Linked DNA regions of Homo sapiens: regions 1 and 3 are each linked to region 2. Evidence: promoter capture Hi-C in human tissues and cell types (Jung and others, 2019). All regions are on one chromosome and are shown on one strand. Each heading gives the region's core, a stretch centred on a gene start or on the middle of the fragment in contact. The rest is flanking DNA. Distances are from core to core; before and after follow the strand shown. Region 1 overlaps UBR2 (ubiquitin protein ligase E3 component n-recognin 2). Region 2 holds the start of MRPS10 (mitochondrial ribosomal protein S10). Region 3 has its middle 38 kb from the start of UBR2.

Region 1 (2,700 bases), core at 29-2,528, 380 kb before region 2:
ACAGGGATAAAAAAGGTAACAGAAGTCCTAAAGTATCTTTTCCAAATAAATGACATGACATTTACAGAACATAAAATTAACCATTTTAAAGTGAACAACTCAGTGGTACTTGGTACATTTATTATAACGTGCAACTACTACAATCTAGTTCCAAAACATTTCCATCACTCCAAAGTAAAACCCCTTACCTACTAAGCCATTTCTCTCCATTTTCCTCTTCCCCAGCCCCTGGCAACTACCAATCTGTTTTTTCTCTCTACAGATTTACCTATTCTGAATATTTCATATAAAAGGAATCATACAATATGTGACCTTTTGAGTCTAGCGTCTTTCACTTAATATGTTTTAGAGGTTCATGCATGTTGTAGCATGTATCAGTTCTTCATTCCTTTTTATGGACGAAAAATATTCCATTGTATGTATATTATCACAATTTGTTTATCCATTCATTCACTGATGGACATTTGGGCTGTTTCTACCTTTTGACTATTGTGAACAACATTGCTACAACATGTGTGTGCATGTACTTGCTCAACTTCGGTTTTCAGTTCTTTTGGGTATATATCTAGGTGTGAAATATACGGTAATGTTTAATATTTTGAGGAACAGCCAAACTGTTTTCCACAGCACTGAATCATTTTATATTTCCACTAGCAATATACAAGGGTTCTAATTTCTCTATATCCTTGTCAATACTTGTTATTACTTTAATAGTCATCTTACTGAGGGTGAAGCAGTATCTCACTGTGGTTTTGATTTTGCATTTCCCTAATGACTAATGATGTTCAGCATCTTTTCATGTGTTTGTTGATTATTCATATATCTTCTCTGTAAAAATGTCTATTCAAGTCTTTTGCCCATTTTTAAATTGGGTTATCTTTTTACTTGCTGAGTTGTAAGATATAAACTCTGCATACTAGATCCTTTTTGGATACATGGCTTGGATATACACACATATACTTTCTCCTGCAGTCCTAAAGTTTTATACCAGTGGTTTTTAACCTTTTTCTAAAGCACAATTCTTTTTTTTCAAATATATCTTTATTTGTCCTGTATTTCTACATACAGAACCCCAATCAACTATATAAAAATGGAGCTTCTCCAATAGAAGTGGAAAAATCTGGAACCTTGACCACTTGGCATCTTACTGTAGCAAATTACAGAACCCTTTCACAAAGCAAATGAAAAACAAAACATGTTTTCCATAGCACTGAATCATTTTGTATAAATTTTGATTTGTACATCAAAAGCTTTGGTCATTCTGATAAAATATATTTGAGACCTGTAGGATATGGGTACCAGGAAGAACTTTTTTTTTTTTTTTTTTAAAGACAGGGTCATGATCTTGGCTTGCTGCAACCTCTGCCTCCTATGGCTCAAGCGGATCCCACTTCAGCACCCCCAACCCAAGTGGCTGGGACCACAGGCACGTGCCACAACACCCAACTAATTTTTGTATTTTTTGTAGGGATGGGGTTTTGCCATTTGCCCAGGCTGGTCTCAAACTCCTGGGTTAAAGTGATCCACCCGCCTTGGCTTCCCAAAGTATTGGTATTATAGGTATGAGCCACCTTGCCTGGCTGAGGAAGGACTATTGATGTCCACTTGCCCCAAATCTATATCAGGCCTACTAACAATGTAGACGTACTTGAGTGTACCTATTCCCCTGCCATTTAAAAATAAAATCTGAAAGAAGGATCTTGAACTATACAACAAATTGTCATAAAATGTAGCAGAAGAGGGACTGCCACAGGTTGGCTAACGGATACAAGAACAAAGCTAGATAGAAAGAATGAGTTCTAATGTTCTACAGCACTATAGCATGACTATAATTAACAATTTACTGTATATTTTCAAATAGCTAGAAGAGCGGATGGTGAAGGTTTCCAAAACCAAATAATGTTAAATGCTTGAGGTGATGGATATGTTAATTACCCTGATTTGCTCATTACACATTGTATATATGTATCAAAATATCACACTGTGCCCCATAAATATCACGCTGTACCCCATAAATATGTACAATTATTGTCAATTAAAAATAATAAAACATAATCTATTGTAGCATACCATTGAAAGATTTAATCATTGTATAATTACAGTTAAGTGAGTTATTAGAAATATATGGAAAGTTTTTGAAGTTTTAAAAAAAGCAGCAGAGATTTAAGCATTTATTTTGTGGGACTCTACTATTCCATTACAAATCCATTTAAGAAAAATAATGCAGGATCAACAATTTGAAAAACACAGTAAGCAGTGGGAATTATTTGTACTGAGCTATCATCACTACACATGGTCCCATCACATAACCAATGATAATGGAAACCAGGAGATGATGATTGGGATTGGCTGTCATGTATGGTAACAGAAAAGAAAGCTATCTGGCCCCAAAAGTCTTTGTTATAATAAAGATATACAAAACTCAACTTGGTTAACTGGTCTACACATATGGGAAAAATAATCCTCTCAACCATAGGTTAGTACTCAAATAAACTTCAAGTATGCTTAAAACAAAACCCCAACCAAATAAAAAATCAGAATTAAATGAAATTTCCCAAATTTCAACTGTGTACTATTAGCAACCGTACAGCATCCACAAAATGCAAAGAACTTTCAAAGTAAACTAGTCACTGTCAATAGTGGAAGTACTATTTGCTTATCCATTTCTCACATCATCTAATGACTATTTCTCAAAATATT
Region 2 (2,700 bases), core at 9-2,508:
GCAACCTCCACTTCCCGGGTTCAAGCAATTCTCGTGCCTCAGCCTCCTGAGTAGCTGGGACTACAGGCACACAACGATGACACCCCACTAATTTTTTGTATTTTTAGTAGAGATGGGGTTTCACCATGTTGGCCAGGCTGGTCTCGAACTCCTGACCTCAGGTGATCCGCCCACCTCAGCCTCCCAAAGTGCTGGGATTACAGGCGTGAGCCACCGCACCCAGCCTGAAGAAGTTTTTATTATAGCAAATCCCAGTTATACATCTTTTTACTTGGAAAAAATTATGGTGGACATTAATAATTAGACAAAACACTTTGGCTTGTTGTAAGTGAAGCTAGCCATTGTAAATTCCTAAATACTAGAGTAACATAAGGAAATGAATAATTTAGAAAGATCAGTAGGACAGCGGTATACAAAATGGTTGGAGCACAGGAATTCCAATTGGTGTGGGGAAGGAAGAAAGGATTAAGAACCATAATTAGAAAGCCGCTGCAATAAGGTAACTGAGTGGCAACTGGACCCAATGGTAGTGGCCGACTTTTCTTTTTCTTGTTAAATATAGATTTTGTTAAAATTTTGAAAAATGCAAAAAAAATTGAAAAATGCAAAAATAGGAAAATAAATCACCCATTATTCCAGTACTGAAGTAAATGGTGTCAATACACTAGTTTCAGTCCGGGCTTTGTGGTTCATGCCTGTAATCTCAGTCCTTTGGGAGGCCAAGGCCAGAGGATCACTTGAGGACAGGAATTCAAGACCAGCCCACAAAATAACGAGAGCAATATAATGAGACCCTGTCTCTACAAGAAAATTAAAAAAAAAAACAAAAAATTAGTCGGCTGTGGTGGCACGCACTTGTAGTCCAGCTACTTGGGAGGCTGAGGCAGGAGGATCACTTGAGGCAGGAGTTTGAGGCTGCAGTGAGCTATGACTGTGCCACTGCACTCCAGCCTGGGCAGCCGAGTGAGACTCAGTCTCTAAAAGGAAAAAATAAGTAAATAAATAAATGTGTGTGTGTGTGTGTGTGTATACACACACAACAATTTAAAGGTGAAAACATTAATAGGGCTTGGTAACTATCCAGACACTGGCCGGAGCCAAACCAGCCTGGCCAGCCAACTGTCCCGCCCCCAAAAAGCACAGGTTCATGTCTCTATGGTTGTTCCAGCGCCGGAACATGAGGATGTACTCTCTTCTTTTGCGGAACTCTATGGTCTGAGGACGCCGCTGTAACCCCGGAAGCAATCCTGAGAGGTCGGGACCGGCAAGATGGCGGCGCGGACAGCGTTCGGTGCTGTGTGCCGGCGCCTCTGGCAGGTACTGGATTGGCTAGGGAGACTAGGAGGGCTGACCGGGATAGTTGCTTTTAAGTTTCCCTGCCACCAGCCGCTCTGCCCATCAGGATTTTTCCTGATATTTATCCCTCACCTCGCGCCGTTTACAGGAAAGTGACGAGAAAGGGGCTAGTTTTATCAGAATTCTCTCATGGAATTAAATATAAGTTAGTGAGTCCAGGCAAAGATAGGAACAAGAATAATCGTAGAATGTCAGAGCTGGAAAAGATTTTGTACTTCGTATGTTCCAAAACCCCTCCTTTCACGCTTGCAAAATAAACTGAGGCTCAGAGAAGACAGGAAATTTGCCTCGCGAAAATTAGAGGCTGAGCTGGTGCAAGATATCAGACTCTTCCCATGGAACTAAATTGAGATGCTTTCCTGGCATCCAAATTTAGATGAAGGTCTCAAGCCAGAGAAGTGGGTTAGATATCCTCTGCGCAGTTATTTGCAGGAGGAGCAAAAACTTTTCAGCAGCGGTTCTCCTGCTTTTTGGCCTTGGGACCACTTTACACTTTCGGAGTTCAGGACTCCAGAGAGCTTTTGTTTTTGTGGGTTTTTGCTATCTATATTTAGCTTTTTGGAAAATAAAACTTAAGAATATATATTGATTTAAAAGTAACACTAACTCATTACATGTTACAACTAATACTTTATGAAAAATATATTTTCTGAACAAACTGAGTAAGGAGCAGCAATGTTTTACATTTTTGCAGCTCTCTTTAATTTCTGGCTTAATAAAAGCTAGATTCAAATCTGCTTCTGTATTTAATCTTTTCCTATATCACACCTCAGGCTGTCACGGGAAAACTTCACTGTACACTGGTAAGAGAATGAGTGGAAAAGTTGTAAATGACGTTTTGGTTTTATGAAAATAGTTTTGATTTCCCGGATCCCCTGAAAGTGTCTCAGACCCCACAGACGTCCTCAGACTACACTTTGAGACCACCGTTTTTGTTTTTGTTTTTGTTTGGAGACGGAGTTTCGCTCTTGTCGCCCAAGCTGGAGCGCAATGGCACGATCTCGGCTCACTACAGCCTCCACCTCCCGGGTTCAAGTGATTCTCCTACCTCAGCCTCCCGAGCAGCTGGAATTACAGTCATGCGTCACCATGCCCAGCTAGTATTTGTATGTTTAGCAGAGACGGGGTTTCACCATGTCGGTCAGGCTGGTCTCGAACTCCTGACCTCAAGTGATCCGGCAGCCTCGGCCTCCCAAAGTGCTGGGATTACAGCCTTGAGCCACCGCACCCGGCCTGAAAACCACTGTTCTTGAGAAAAGTCAGATGGTATTAGAGATTGAAATTTTTGAACTGCTTTATTAAGACAAATTTACCCAGACAGCCCTCCCTTCCAAACCACCACTC
Region 3 (2,700 bases), core at 29-2,528, 310 kb before region 2:
ACATTTGTTTTTCTTCCTTCTGAGTTGACTGGGCCTGCTCTGCTTCAGGCTTTGGGTCAGATTCAGGTCTGCTTCATGGGCCTCTCATTTTGGAGAGAGTGGCCAAGAGGCCAACCCAAGGAAACTCCATTCCAGTCCTCTGCTCAGGGTGTCTACAAACATCCCATTGGCCAAAGTGTGTCATGTGACTGATCCTAAAATAAATGGAATAGATATTTATATTCCATATACTTTCATGGAAAATCCTAACACAGGGAGAGATTACAGAGTTGGGAATGATAATCCAAACTACCACAGCTCTCACTGGGCAAACCCGAAGAAGGAGACGTCACAGAGCCTGTTGTTGCCGTCTATTCAGATCAGCCTTCCAGGGCACAGAGCAGGGTGAGAGGGGATAGAGGCATCTGGAGGGGCAAACAAAGATATCTCTGCAGGATCGCATGAGTTAATTATTATTATTATTTTAGAGATGAGGTCTCACTCTGTAGCCTAGGCTGGACTGCAGTGGCATGAGCATGGCTCACTGCAGCCTCAATTTCCTGGGCTCAAACGATCCTCTCACCTCAGCCTCTCAAGTAGCTGGGCTACAGGCATATGCCGCCATGCCTGGCCAATCTTGGTATTTTTTGTAGAGGTGGGGTTTCACCATGTTGCCCTGGCTGGTCTCGAACTCCTGGGCTCAAGCAATCCATTCATCTCAGCCTCCCGAAGTGCTGGGATTATAGGGGTGAGCCACTGTGTCTGGCCAAGTTAATATTTTAATGAGCTTAAAATATTGGCTCACATAAAAATACCATACAAGTGTTTGTTGGATGAAAAAATAGGCCAGGCCCAGTGGCTCATGCCTGTAATCTCAGCACTTCAGGAGGCCGAGGTGGGTGGATCATTTGAGACCAGGAATCTGAGACCAGCCTGGCCAACAGGGCGAAATCCTGTCTCTACAAAAAAATACAAAAACTAGCCAGGCGTGGTGGCATGCACCTGTAGTCCCAGCTACTCAGGAGGCTGAGGCATGAGAATCGCTTGAACCAGGGAGGCAGAGGTTGCAGTGAGTTGAGATGGCACCACTGCACTGCAGCCTGGGTAACAGAGTGAGACTCTGTTCTCAAACAAACAAAACAAAACAATAAAACATGGTGCCATTGAGAATGATATTTTTAAGAATATTTAAGTATTTAAAATTTTTATAATGAATTATAAGTGAAAGAGGTTATAAAGCAGTTATACATTATAACATCATTTAAACATACTATATACCTAGAAGAAGGGCTGAATTTAGCAAAATGTTAATATTGTTGTTGGGAGGTAGAGTCATGGGGCATTTTTATTTCTGTGCTCTGTGTTCAGAATAAGGTTGTCACATATGGCCTCATAGGTTGCGCACTGCACAACTCCAGGAGGCCCCCTTTGTCCTTCTTCCTACTTCCAACTTGCATAACCTCCTTTATTGCCCACACCTTCTAGAACACAGACGTATTACTCTCATGTAATCAAACAAATAAATACAGTTTAAAAAATTGCAACCTTGCCTTTTCTTCCTAACATACTTCAAAGACAAATGAAGTTGACCTAGTTTGTCATTTTTATTAGAGCTGGAGAGAAATTACCTCTGGACTCTAAAACGGTTGTTATAAAGGTAAACTCAGCAACTCTTGGGACAATCAAGGAATGTACAGTCATGACTGCAGAACTGAAAGGTACTGCGTCACATGCGTAGGATAAGTAAACATATTTGGCCTGAGTAAGTTAATCACATTTTTAAAACCCTGAAATGTATTTTATCTACTGAAAAAATTCAGAACTGCTGAATCAGAAATGATGAATATGAGCATGAAATGCTCATATTAAATTCACAATGAAGAAGATTTAAAATAAAATGATTTAAATAAAGAGATTTAAAGTAAAATGATTCTCCCGTCATGCACAGGACAAAAGGAGCCTGGTTCTTAATGGCATTCTACACTAACCCTGGACTTCTCAGCTCCATACTTCTTATATGTAAGATAGCAAATATCTTTACTACTTAGGCCACTGTAATTGGGCACTGTTCTTTGCAGCCAAAGCATTATATAAGAAGCTTTGAACCCCTCCCTTCCCTAGATGGAGTCAAACAATTCCTCTTCTATGTGCTCACGACCCATTGCACCTCTATTCTAGAATTCAGCATATAGTGTGATATGGTTTGGCTCTGTGTCCCCCAACCAGATCACATCTCGAATTGTAATCCCCACGTGTTGAGGGAGGAAGGTGATTGGATCATGGGGGTGGTTTCCCCCATGAAGTTCTTGTGATAGTGAGTTCTCATGAGATCCAATGGTATAATGAGGCAGTTTTTCCTGCTCTTGCTTGCTCTCTGTCCTGCTACCTTGTGAAGAAAGTGCCTTGCTTCCCCTTCCGCCGTGATTGTAGGTTTCCTGAGGCTTCCCTAGCCATGCAGAACTGTGAGTCAATTAAACCTCTTTCCTTTATAAGTTACCCAGTCTCAGGTAGTATCTTTACAGCAGCGTGAATACACTGCTGTATATTATATAGAATAATATATAGAATTATTCTATATAGGATATGGAATAATATATAGAATTATTCTATATAGGATATGGAATAATATATAGAATTATTCTATATAGGATATGGAATAATATATAGAATTATTCTATATAGGATATGGAATAATATATAGAATTATTCTATATAGGATAT

What was found. The method cuts DNA at HindIII sites, captures the fragments that hold promoters and counts their contacts. A contact is called where the count stands out against the background at its distance.
Region 1: a fragment that was not itself captured here is called in contact with the fragment with the promoter of MRPS10 in region 2 in 1 of the 25 tissues and cell types used here (aorta).
Region 3: a contact is called between a fragment that was not itself captured here and the fragment with the promoter of MRPS10 in region 2, in 1 of the 25 tissues and cell types used here (aorta).

The regions. Positions count from the first base shown.
Region 1 is chr6:42,594,346-42,597,045 of GRCh38, reverse strand. The region is part of intron 4 of UBR2 (ubiquitin protein ligase E3 component n-recognin 2); the gene reads right to left. Among named protein-coding and RNA genes, the nearest start is that of UBR2, 32 kb to the right of the region's middle. The HindIII fragment of the contact is 7,676 bases long and covers 1-2,700 here.
Region 2 is chr6:42,216,419-42,219,118 of GRCh38, reverse strand. It overlaps MRPS10 (mitochondrial ribosomal protein S10), which reads left to right and starts at 1,258. Exons shown (of 7, transcript NM_018141.4): 1 at 1,258-1,317. The coding sequence starts at 1,270. RefSeq lists enhancers at 1,091-1,370, 1,942-2,543, 2,544-2,700. The HindIII fragment of the contact is 13,512 bases long and covers 1-2,700 here.
Region 3 is chr6:42,524,289-42,526,988 of GRCh38, reverse strand. No RefSeq gene overlaps it. Among named protein-coding and RNA genes, the nearest start is that of UBR2, 38 kb to the left of the region's middle. The HindIII fragment of the contact is 9,731 bases long and covers 1-2,700 here.